Linked DNA regions of Homo sapiens: regions 2 and 3 are each linked to region 1. Evidence: promoter capture Hi-C in 16 types of primary human blood cells and fetal thymus (Javierre and others, 2016). All regions are on one chromosome and are shown on one strand. Each heading gives the region's core, a stretch centred on a gene start or on the middle of the fragment in contact. The rest is flanking DNA. Distances are from core to core; before and after follow the strand shown.

Evidence for each region. Contacts are between HindIII fragments. The CHiCAGO score rates a contact against its expected background, and 5 or more counts as called.
Region 2: a fragment that was not itself captured here is called in contact with the fragment with the promoter of CLCA1 in region 1 in 2 of 17 cell types (naive CD4 T cells and naive CD8 T cells); the score reaches 6.5 in naive CD4 T cells.
Region 3: a contact is called between a fragment that was not itself captured here and the fragment with the promoter of CLCA1 in region 1, in 4 of 17 cell types (naive CD4 T cells, activated CD4 T cells, total CD4 T cells and 1 more). The highest score is 8.1, in naive CD4 T cells.

Annotation. Positions count from the first base shown.
Region 1 is chr1:86,467,324-86,470,568 of GRCh38, forward strand. CLCA1 (chloride channel accessory 1) reads left to right here and starts at 1,604. Exons shown (of 14, transcript NM_001285.4): 1 at 1,604-1,810. The coding sequence starts at 1,649. The HindIII fragment of the contact is 8,280 bases long and covers 1-2,960 here.
Region 2 is chr1:86,731,328-86,734,601 of GRCh38, forward strand. All of the region lies in intron 5 of SH3GLB1 (SH3 domain containing GRB2 like, endophilin B1), which reads left to right. Among named protein-coding and RNA genes, the nearest start is that of SH3GLB1, 28 kb to the left of the region's middle. The HindIII fragment of the contact is 496 bases long and covers 1,317-1,812 here.
Region 3 is chr1:86,750,835-86,754,370 of GRCh38, forward strand. No RefSeq gene overlaps it. Among named protein-coding and RNA genes, the nearest start is that of SH3GLB1, 48 kb to the left of the region's middle. RefSeq lists an enhancer at 2,975-3,034. The HindIII fragment of the contact is 249 bases long and covers 1,489-1,737 here.

The sequences.
Region 1 (3,245 bases), core at 354-2,853:
GAACCCAGGCAAAGACACATACATTTGGGGTCTGAGATATCTTGGAATCTACATTTTTAAATTTTGTATGAATAATAAATGTATATGTATTTTGATATAAAAGCATATTTTGGATCATCTGGACAACCACATTATAATTGAGCATTTCCACTCTATTTCAGTGTTTCCCTTTTAACTGCTTAAGATTATGCTAGATATAAAGGGTATTCAATTAGGAAAAGAGGAAGTCAAATTGTCCCTGTTTGCAGATGACATGATTGTATATCTAGAAAACCCCATTGTCTCAGCCCAAAATCTCCTTAAGCTGATAAGCAACTTCAGCAAAGTCTCAGGATACAAAATCAATGTACAAAAATCACAAGCATTCTTATACACCAACAACAGACAAACAGAGAGCCAAATCATGAGTGAACTCCCATTCACAATTGCTTCAAAGAGAATAAAATACCTAGGAATCCAACTTACAAGGGACGTGAAGGACCTCTTCAAGGAGAACTACAAACCACTGCTCAAGGAAATAAAAGAGGATACAAACAAATGGAAGAACATTTCATGCTCATGGATAGGAAGAATCAATATCGTGAAAATGGCCATACTGCCCAAGGTAATTTACAGATTCAATGCCATCTCCATCAAGCTACCAATGCCTTTCTTCACAGAATTGGAAAAAACTACTTTAAAGTTCATATGGACAAGATGAAATTAATGCTTATCACCATCTGAAGACCAAATGAATTTATGAACGAAGAGATATTTCAAGTATTTCAATACAAGAAAATGGGGGGCCAATTTGAGGTTCCACCTGAGGTTTGGCAAATTGAAAGAATATACACAGCCACTGACAGCCCATAATTCATGTTCCTAGGGACATTTAGTTTCAGCAAAATAATTTAATGATGTTAATTGGAATTTTATTGACTGGTAGGAGCTATGCAATAGAGAAAGCAGAAATCTGATGAGGAACTTGGAGTATGCTTTGCAAAGTAAGATATACATTTTATCTTTACTCTCCATTATAAAATAGTCAATAATATCTACATCACTTGCTAATGCTTTTGGTACAAATGGATGTGGAATATAATTGAATATTTTCTTGTTTAAGGGGAGCATGAAGAGGTGTTGAGGTTATGTCAAGGTAAACAAAACCACCATTGTGGTAAAGACCACCATGAGGGATAACTGAATATATGGCTTACAAAATGTTTACTGAATAAGCAGAACAGTCTGGATTTTCCTGGGCAGGAGGGGGTTGGGGGCTTTGGGTGGGTTGGTGTCCATGGCTTGGTAAACATTTCCAAGAAGTAAACAAACCTATCAGCGGCCAAGCTGCTTGTCACCTGTGAGTGCTTCCAAGGAACCGGATGTGGGCTCCCCCACCCTTACCCCAGCATCTGGCACAGCTGAAGGCAGATGGAAATATTTACAAGTACGCAATTTGAGACTAAGATATTGTTATCATTCTCCTATTGAAGACAAGAGCAATAGTAAAACACATCAGGTCAGGGGGTTAAAGACCTGTGATAAACCACTTCCGATAAGTTGGAAACGTGTGTCTATATTTTCATATCTGTATATATATAATGGTAAAGAAAGACACCTTCGTAACCCGCATTTTCCAAAGAGAGAAATCACAGGGAGATGTACAGCAATGGGGCCATTTAAGAGTTCTGTGTTCATCTTGATTCTTCACCTTCTAGAAGGGGCCCTGAGTAATTCACTCATTCAGCTGAACAACAATGGCTATGAAGGCATTGTCGTTGCAATCGACCCCAATGTGCCAGAAGATGAAACACTCATTCAACAAATAAAGGTAAGTTCATAGTAATTATCCATACTTTTTTAAAAATAGCATAATGTTGTGATAGAGAGAACATGAGTGCCCTATTCCAGCTGCACGACACTGGCATGTATTTTTATGTCTAAGTCTCAGTTTCTTCATCTGTAAAATGGAAATAATAACAAGTTAACCATTAGGATTCTTGTGTCAGATAAGATAATGAATGCAATGCACATAACTCAGAGTGATATACTGTTGGCAACTGATAAATGATAAATTGATATGTACTGCTGTGGATTATGTCACTGAAAATTATTTAGTTCTATAGTAAGGCAGAGTCAGCTACATTTGACAGATATTGTGAGATGCACAGATCCTTTGCCTGATTTTACCCTTGGCACGAGTCAGACTCTCCTTTTATTCTCCTAATAGGAACCCCCTTCCCTGTGATCCTAAAAGGAGCCCCAGATGCAAATCTCTGATATAAGAACAACCCTGACCTTCTGATGGGAGAAAACCTTGCATTTTATCAGTCCCAATTCAAGGGATCCTTTCAGAGATTTCTTGCTACCTCTTATGTAGCAGAAGGGAAAGGAAGAAGACTTCCTGTCCTGGCAGGGGTATCTATACCATTGAAGAAGGTCTTGTACAACAACAAACAGCTAAAACTAAGAGGGAAATGCTTTATAAAAGACCGCCCTGGAATCTGGCTGTAACACATCCAGAGGCAGTGCTGTACTAGTAACAGTATTAGTCTGTAAAATGGGAATAATAATAATAAATATCTCCCTTATCAGATTTTGTGAGGATCAAAGTTTAAAATGCATGCATATAAAGGGAAGCTGGGTGGAGTATGTAAGAATACGGTGCAATACTTTGCATGTCTTCTGTTCATCTAAATTTATCTCAGAACTTTAAAAAATAACTTTAAAAATGCATGCATAGTGCCTGGTACATAGTAAGAGCTCAATAAATGGTGGATATAGTCATTGGCTCTCTCTAGATGGAAAATTAATAGAACAAGGGCCCAGAGGGATTTCCCCAGAGATCCACTGCTCTAAGCAGAGGCAAATATAGAAAGATAATGTTTGGAAAGAAAACCATCTCTACAGTGTGTGGTTAGAGAATTGCAGCAGTAGGGGATAGGGATAGGGAACAGAGTGGAGGGTGTCACTCACCATAAAGCTTACCTACTTAACCCAAAGAGGATCAGGCTGTCTGTGGTAAAAGGGAGATTCAGACCTCTTGAATCTCTCAATCATCTAAAATGTTGAGTGAGTTTTTGATTGTTTCTAAATTTGGAAGTGGCATCAGCAAACATGTGACCAGTGTGTTTCAGTCTCTGGCTAGACAGTGGGGTTCAGCAATATGCCAGAAGGAGAATGTAGATGCCGTATTCATCTTCAGTGACCGTGGTAATTTGTATCTACAGTATATAGTGACTAGAGCTTTCAAAGTGCTTCTACTT
Region 2 (3,274 bases), core at 315-2,814, 260 kb after region 1:
CTTTTATTTTCTGGCTTTGTAGGATTGATTTTACAGTCTGTTTTATGCATAGGTTATAGAGCTGTTGATTCTGTGACTTGGATCTCCAGTATGAAATTCTTACCTTATGCTCTTATCCCCCCTTTGTGAGTCTGTTCATCAGTTTAGTTACGGTTCCACACTGGCTTCTGATTTCTCTCTGAACTTCTAGCATGAAAAGGGGCAGAGCAACACAGAAGAGAATACAGGTTGAACAAAAAAACTAGAATGTCTTCCTCTTTGGCATAAAGATATGCCAGAAAATTTCTGACTTGATTTTGCAGTCTCAGCAAGTTTAGGAAATAATTGATACAATACATGGGAAGAAACTCATGAAACATATTATATACATATATATAAAAATCTAAAGAAACCTATCAAAATGGATTTCAGGGGTTTTTTTCTTCTACATATCTCACTTCTGACATTTTTATAATTAAAAATGTATAAATGACCAGGAGCAGTGGCTCACACCTGTAATCCCAGCACTTTGGAAGGCCGAGGTGGGCAGATCACCTGAGGTCAGGAGTTCAAAACCAGCCTGACCAGCATGGTGAAACCCTGTCTCTACTAAAAATACAAAATTAGCCAGGCATGGTGTCCCAGCTACTTGGGAGGCTGAGGCAGGAGAATCCCTTGAATTTGGGAGGTGGAGTTTGCAGTCAGCCAGGATCAGCCGTTGCACTCCAAGCTAGGCAACAAGAGCAAAACTCCATCTCAAAAAATAAATAAATGAAAATGTATAAATGTTAAGACTTTACATTCCTGGAGTATTTTAAGATTTTAAGCCATATGAATAGTAGTCAACACTGATCAAGATAGTCACAGCAAATGCCTCAGAAGCATTACCAAAATTTAGGGCTTACAGATACCCAATCTTGATATCGTGGGCCAACAGATTCTTGCCCATCTTCCAGTTACATTTTAGAAAAAACTCTTCTGGCTTACCTAACCTATGTTATGCTATCATGTAGTCTAGTAGCAGTTACTTTTAGCAGTAGAAGGTCTTCTCCCTAGAGATTTTTTAGACGACAGAATATCAGCCCTTTCTTATCTATCTTTCTAATGTGGATCATTTTCTTCCGAAGTAAATTGATTATGCTAAGCCTAATTTAAATTCCTTTAGCCTCTCAGATCAGTTATTATGATCAATTATATATGCCAGAAGTATAGATGATTTGGGACATTTGACTGTTTGAAGCCACCCAATATGCACTAAAACTTGTTCAAGAAATGAGATGCATTTTTCCCTATCATCTACCCTCTCTAAAGTCTAGATTGTACAGAAGGACCTCCTAAGCTTTGTAACATGGTGCCTTTCTTCATGATTAAATTTTACTCAAACCTAGAAGCCTGATCCCTCATCCTTAATGAGATCATTTGATATTTTTTATTCAGTGTACTTAGCATTAAAATATTATTTCTACTTCAGTCTCAATCTTCCCGGTCACCTTAATCTGCTACCTAGTTTACTTGCTTATTACCTTACCTAGAAATAATGTCAGTTAGTAGGATTTTTCTGCCATTTCTACTAAAGGCCATTAAATTAAACCGTACTTTGACAATCAAAGACCTATATGGAACTAACCTAGTTTATTTCTGAAGTGCATTTATTTTTGGTTTGCTGTATTTACTTCTGTTACTCAAAGCCTTTTGTATTCAACCAAGCAGAACAGTTAATAGTGCATATGTAATATTGATGTGATTGGTTTTCCTTAGTGCTCTCCTTAGGAAGAACATTGCTTCTTTTTTTCTTCTGGGACTTTTTTCTACTTCATACCAGCTTCCAGATGAAGCTTACTTTGTCCCTGCTATCAAAACACCATGGGTTCTGGTTTTAGTCAAGTAAATTTAATTTCAACTTCTGACTTACTAATTCAAGCTTATTTCCGTAAGTCCAAGCTAGAGGTCAATTATTAGTCCCCTCTGCTAGGTTTGTTGCCAGTGGGCTGTTACAGCAACTGATTATCTACTTTGCTGCTACTTCCTTGTAGACTGGTTTACTAGGGTAACTATTGCCACCAAAGGATGAGGAGAGGGAGATGAGGCCTGAAAGAAAAAAGTTCATACCTTGTTGGGTTTTTTTTGTTTTTCGTTTTTTTTACTTTTATTACATCTTGGAAATGTCATGAATCATTTGCATAGGTGGAAAATGCTATTTGTGCTGGAGAGGTAGTCAAACCTATCATTATAATGATGATGTAACCAATGATAATTCCCAATGGGAGAAAAGCTAACTATTCTGAGTAAGCTGTGAGGTTTTATTTCTCTTTCCCACTTATTAACAACCAACTCTGACTAAAGGTTTGAGAAGATGTTTTTTGCCACTATTTGCTATTTTTAGATCTTGTTGATTTTTCAGTGAACTGTTTTGTCGCAGCAGTAAGCCTCCTTTATCAGATGGTTGAAACCAGTAGTGGCATACTGTTATTTACATCTCTTCCCAGCTCCACAGTGTGTGACTTCACGTTAGTAGCTGGAAATCAGCTGTGGTGGGAGTATTTATATCATGAAAATCTGGATATGAGAGCTTTTTTTTTTATTTCTTGGGGAAGAATTTAACAGCACACTACTGATTGAAGTTCGATCATAACTTAAAAAGCTTTTTAAAACCCTAGTGTATCTTAATAGATAGTATTCTGCTTAAGACATTTTTTATGCATAGTTTGAAAAGAAAATTTGAAAGAAAGACATTTAAAATGTAGGACAAAGAATCCTTTGAATGAACCTAAAAACTGGTGCTAGCAACAAGTGTTTGGCAACTAAACGCAAGGTGAAAATCCTATGGCTTCACTCTAAAGTCTTTTGCATTTGAGACTGAAGACTCTTTAACTTCAAAGTAAAAACTGTAGTAATAATTGAGAATTTTTGCAGCAATATTACTTTATACTTGTAAAACTGGTCATCTTAAAATTTTGTAAAATAGTAAAATTTAGCAAAATTGATACTAGAAAATTTATGAAAATATCTTGGCTTTCTCTTAGTAGTTTTTGTAGGCTCTTAAGAGTGTATCATTAAGCTTTAGCGTAACAGATTCTTTTCAATCAAGTACTGGAATCAGTTGTCCAGGTGGAGTAATACAGAAAAGCTAAGGTCTAGAAACCAGGGGACCATTTTAGATACAAAGCAGAATTGCGGAATTGCCAGATTATAACTTGAGGTTTGTTCGGGGGATTTTTTTTAACCATCTAAAATAAATGTATATAAGATGGACTGAGTCTTCTAAAGAGATTCTAAAACTATATTCTTACTTAAG
Region 3 (3,536 bases), core at 363-2,862, 280 kb after region 1:
CACAAAATTATTCACATTAACACCCTGAAACACAATGTCGCTGAGCCGTGGCCTGTCCGATCATCAGCAAGTGGAGGATTCCCCTCGCCTGTGTATGTTTTAGAATCTCCAGAGACACATCCACAGTCAATCCTCTTCTTTCTACCTGCTAGTGAAGACAGGCCTTCTATCCCAGCTCACACTCCTAACCTAATTGCCTCAGAAACTTTCTGCGGTCACTGCCAGTGAATCTGAGGTTTAGCATGCTGAAAGTCGGTAAAATGGGAAGGTCACCACTGGCATCTGATAGCCCATTCTACAGAAGTGGGTATGGAATGCCTGCAATAAGGTTGCTCATCAAGATTCAAAATCTTACCTCAGTTACATGATAGAGTTTTCCTCACTGATACAACAGGGGCCCACTGCCTAGGCAACCACGTGGTGACAAGTATGTTACCCAGACGTTGTGTTTCTTGCTGACCTCTAACCCACCCCCTTCTTCAATGCTACCTACAGCCCACAGTGCTTGGCTCACTGCTGCCTCAGACAGAGAGGAAAGTCAGAGTTCTATGGCATGATGAGAGCCATTTCTTCCCTATTAGCACTCAATCGCAGGCTTCCCAGAAAGCACAGCTCTCTTTTAAGTACAAGAGCTCTTTAAATTTACACACACAAAGCCAGTTCTCCCAGGAGAAAGCCCTCACCAGATTGTCTGGTGAAGATAAATTCCACTGTTGGACACTTTGCAGTCCTGGAACCAAGGCTCCCCTTTGTCCCATAGCTCCCCTTGGTGTCAGGGAGCTGCTCACCTGTCTATTTCTACCTTCATGATAAAGTCCCTTTTAAGGGCCGTATTACTTTATCCCACACTCTGGCATTGATTAGTACCATCTCATGGCATCCATATGCTTCAATATATTTGGACCCCAGTGTTAGGAGCAATAGAGTCCTACTCTATTCCTGAACTATAAAATGTTACTATTCAGCCCAGACAGAATGTTTTATTGCAAAACCACCTAGCACAGAAATTGACTATAGACTTTGGAATCAAAAAAGCAAATTTTCAAATCTCAACTCTACCACCTTATTAACTGTGTGTTCAGTAAGTGACACAACCTGAACCTGTTTCTTCATCTACAAAGTACAGATTAAAATGCTTACCTCCTAGGTTTGTAGCAAACAGTACTTCTCAGACCAGCAGCATCAGCATCACCTAGAAATTTATTAGACATGCAGTCTCGGGCCGCTGCTGAATCAGAAACCCTAAGGATGGGTCAAAGCAATTTGCGTTTTAACAAGCCCTCGGGTGATTTGATGCATGCCAAAGTGGGCGAAACACCAGTTGCAAGGATTAAAAGAAATAATGCACATAAGGGCTGGACTCAGTAACTGGCATACAGTAAATACTTAACAATTTCTAACTACTATTTTGTCACTATTACAATTTTTAAAGTAATGAATGAACTACACACTTTTCAGGCAAAGTTTCGTATATATTTCTCATAACAAAGCTTTTCATAGACATTTGGCAGCTGAAGGCTGGAGGTTAAGATCTCAAGAATATGGAGTACAAATCCTTATATTTTAACCAATCATGTAGAAAATGAGTTTAAATTCTTTTCACTAAAAATTGACTGAAATCTATATAGAAAGTCACTCCATTTCTGAAAGAAAAAACAGTACTTGGAGAAAGGGTCAAGATTTTTCTCAGAAAACAGTCAAGGTCTGCTTCTACACATGGAAAAATGGGACAATTGAAGCTTCAATAATGGAGCTTCCAGCCCCATTATTGCCACAGCAACTGCCACATCATAGAATATCACCATGATCATATTCACCTGAAGTTTTTCAAAGCATATGCTTCCAATTGCATGGTGTGATTATAAAACAATTTCTATCATATACTCATAAAATGACCAGCTTTATTTCATGTAACTTCCTGATGAATGCCTCAAGATAAATTTGTGTTATAATAACCCTAGGAAACTAAATGAATTTACCTTCTACCCAGGCTGTTTGAATGTAAATCAATTACATGTTACAGAAGACTGAAATGATAGTGGTTTTATAATCGTCCACAAGCCATTCTTTCTGAGAGCATTTACCTAGCAAGTCCAGTAGAAATTAAATTTGTGGTTGCGTACCTTCAAGCAAATTGTTCACTTAATTTCTCAGCCCCACAGATTTTTTTATCTGTAAAATAAAAGGATTAAACCAGATGATCTCTAAGGTCCATCTAGCTCTTGCTTCCTAACATGTTCTAAACAAGCCAAAGTTGTTCATGTTTTAATAATAACTAATGTTAAACCCACAATTATGAATTAACTTGAACAGCATACACATTTCTACTGGCAGCTCGTTGATGGGGTTGTTTTCTTTATATTTTAGAGTATAAAGCTCTTCAGTCTGAGCTTTCTACAAAAGGCTGAATAACACCTTGTGAGAAATTCTTTAGAAATCCCTCTCTACCTGGACTGACTTAGACCTCAAAAGGACCAACTCTGTGCTCAGACATTCTAGTGAATTCTAATGAGTATATATGAACAGTGGCACTCACAGTCTTAGGCATCATTGGGCTTTTACATCCCCTTGAAAAAGTTGCTAACACTTATTGAGCACTTTATGTGCTTTACCTTCTTTAAACCTGGCAAGAAAGTATACTTTCCCCCATTCTACAGACGAGAAAACAGAATTTAGAAAGCCACACAACTAGAAAAATGGCAAAGAAGTCTCATTGCTTGCCTTCCCAACTCCAAAGCCCAAGCTCTTAATCAGTGTGGAACACAGACACCTATTTTTGGAATGTGCCCCCTACATATGGTCAATGGTCCATTATTTCCTGCACTCTTCCCAGGTTAGTACTTTTCTTGGGGCAGAAAAAGTATTGCTCTTAACATAAAGCAGCTATAAACTGCTGCTTAACCAACTAAAGAAACCTACAAAGGTCATCAAGCCAAGCAGGGAGCTGCCAGTGCCATCACTGCCACAGCTGAAAGTGCAGAGAAATCAGTGTTGGTTTAAGTCAGGGCTTCTCAAAGTGCAGGTCCTGGAATCTGTCAGGGGTGGGACTCTGCCATCTTGTGGTTCAATAAGCTCTCCAGATGATTCTGATGCACATGTTTGAGAGCCACTTGTTTACATATAGCAGAGAAACCACCTGTCTCTCACCTCAAAGCTGACTCACCTGCAGAAACAATGAAAGATGATAATGACAGCCCCCCCAAAATACCTCCAAGCTATCAAATGAAACTAAAATGTAATATCATTTTACTGACTCTATCCAATAAATAGACCACTCATTAATGAGTAATTTGGTAAGCACGTGAACATGCTCAGGATATAATTTTTCCAGGAACAGGGAAAAGAGTCCATGGATTGGAAGTTTATTTTGAAATTCAGCTGTAAGGGAATACGTTCTATGTATCTGTCTTTTATCAAGGTAAGACAGCAATATAATTTTATTGTTTCTTTCTAGCCAGTGTCTCAGTTTCCACTGAGGGGTTTATATGCCCTATTCAGCAGGACAAGAGCACATTATTTTAAAAATAGATGCCAAT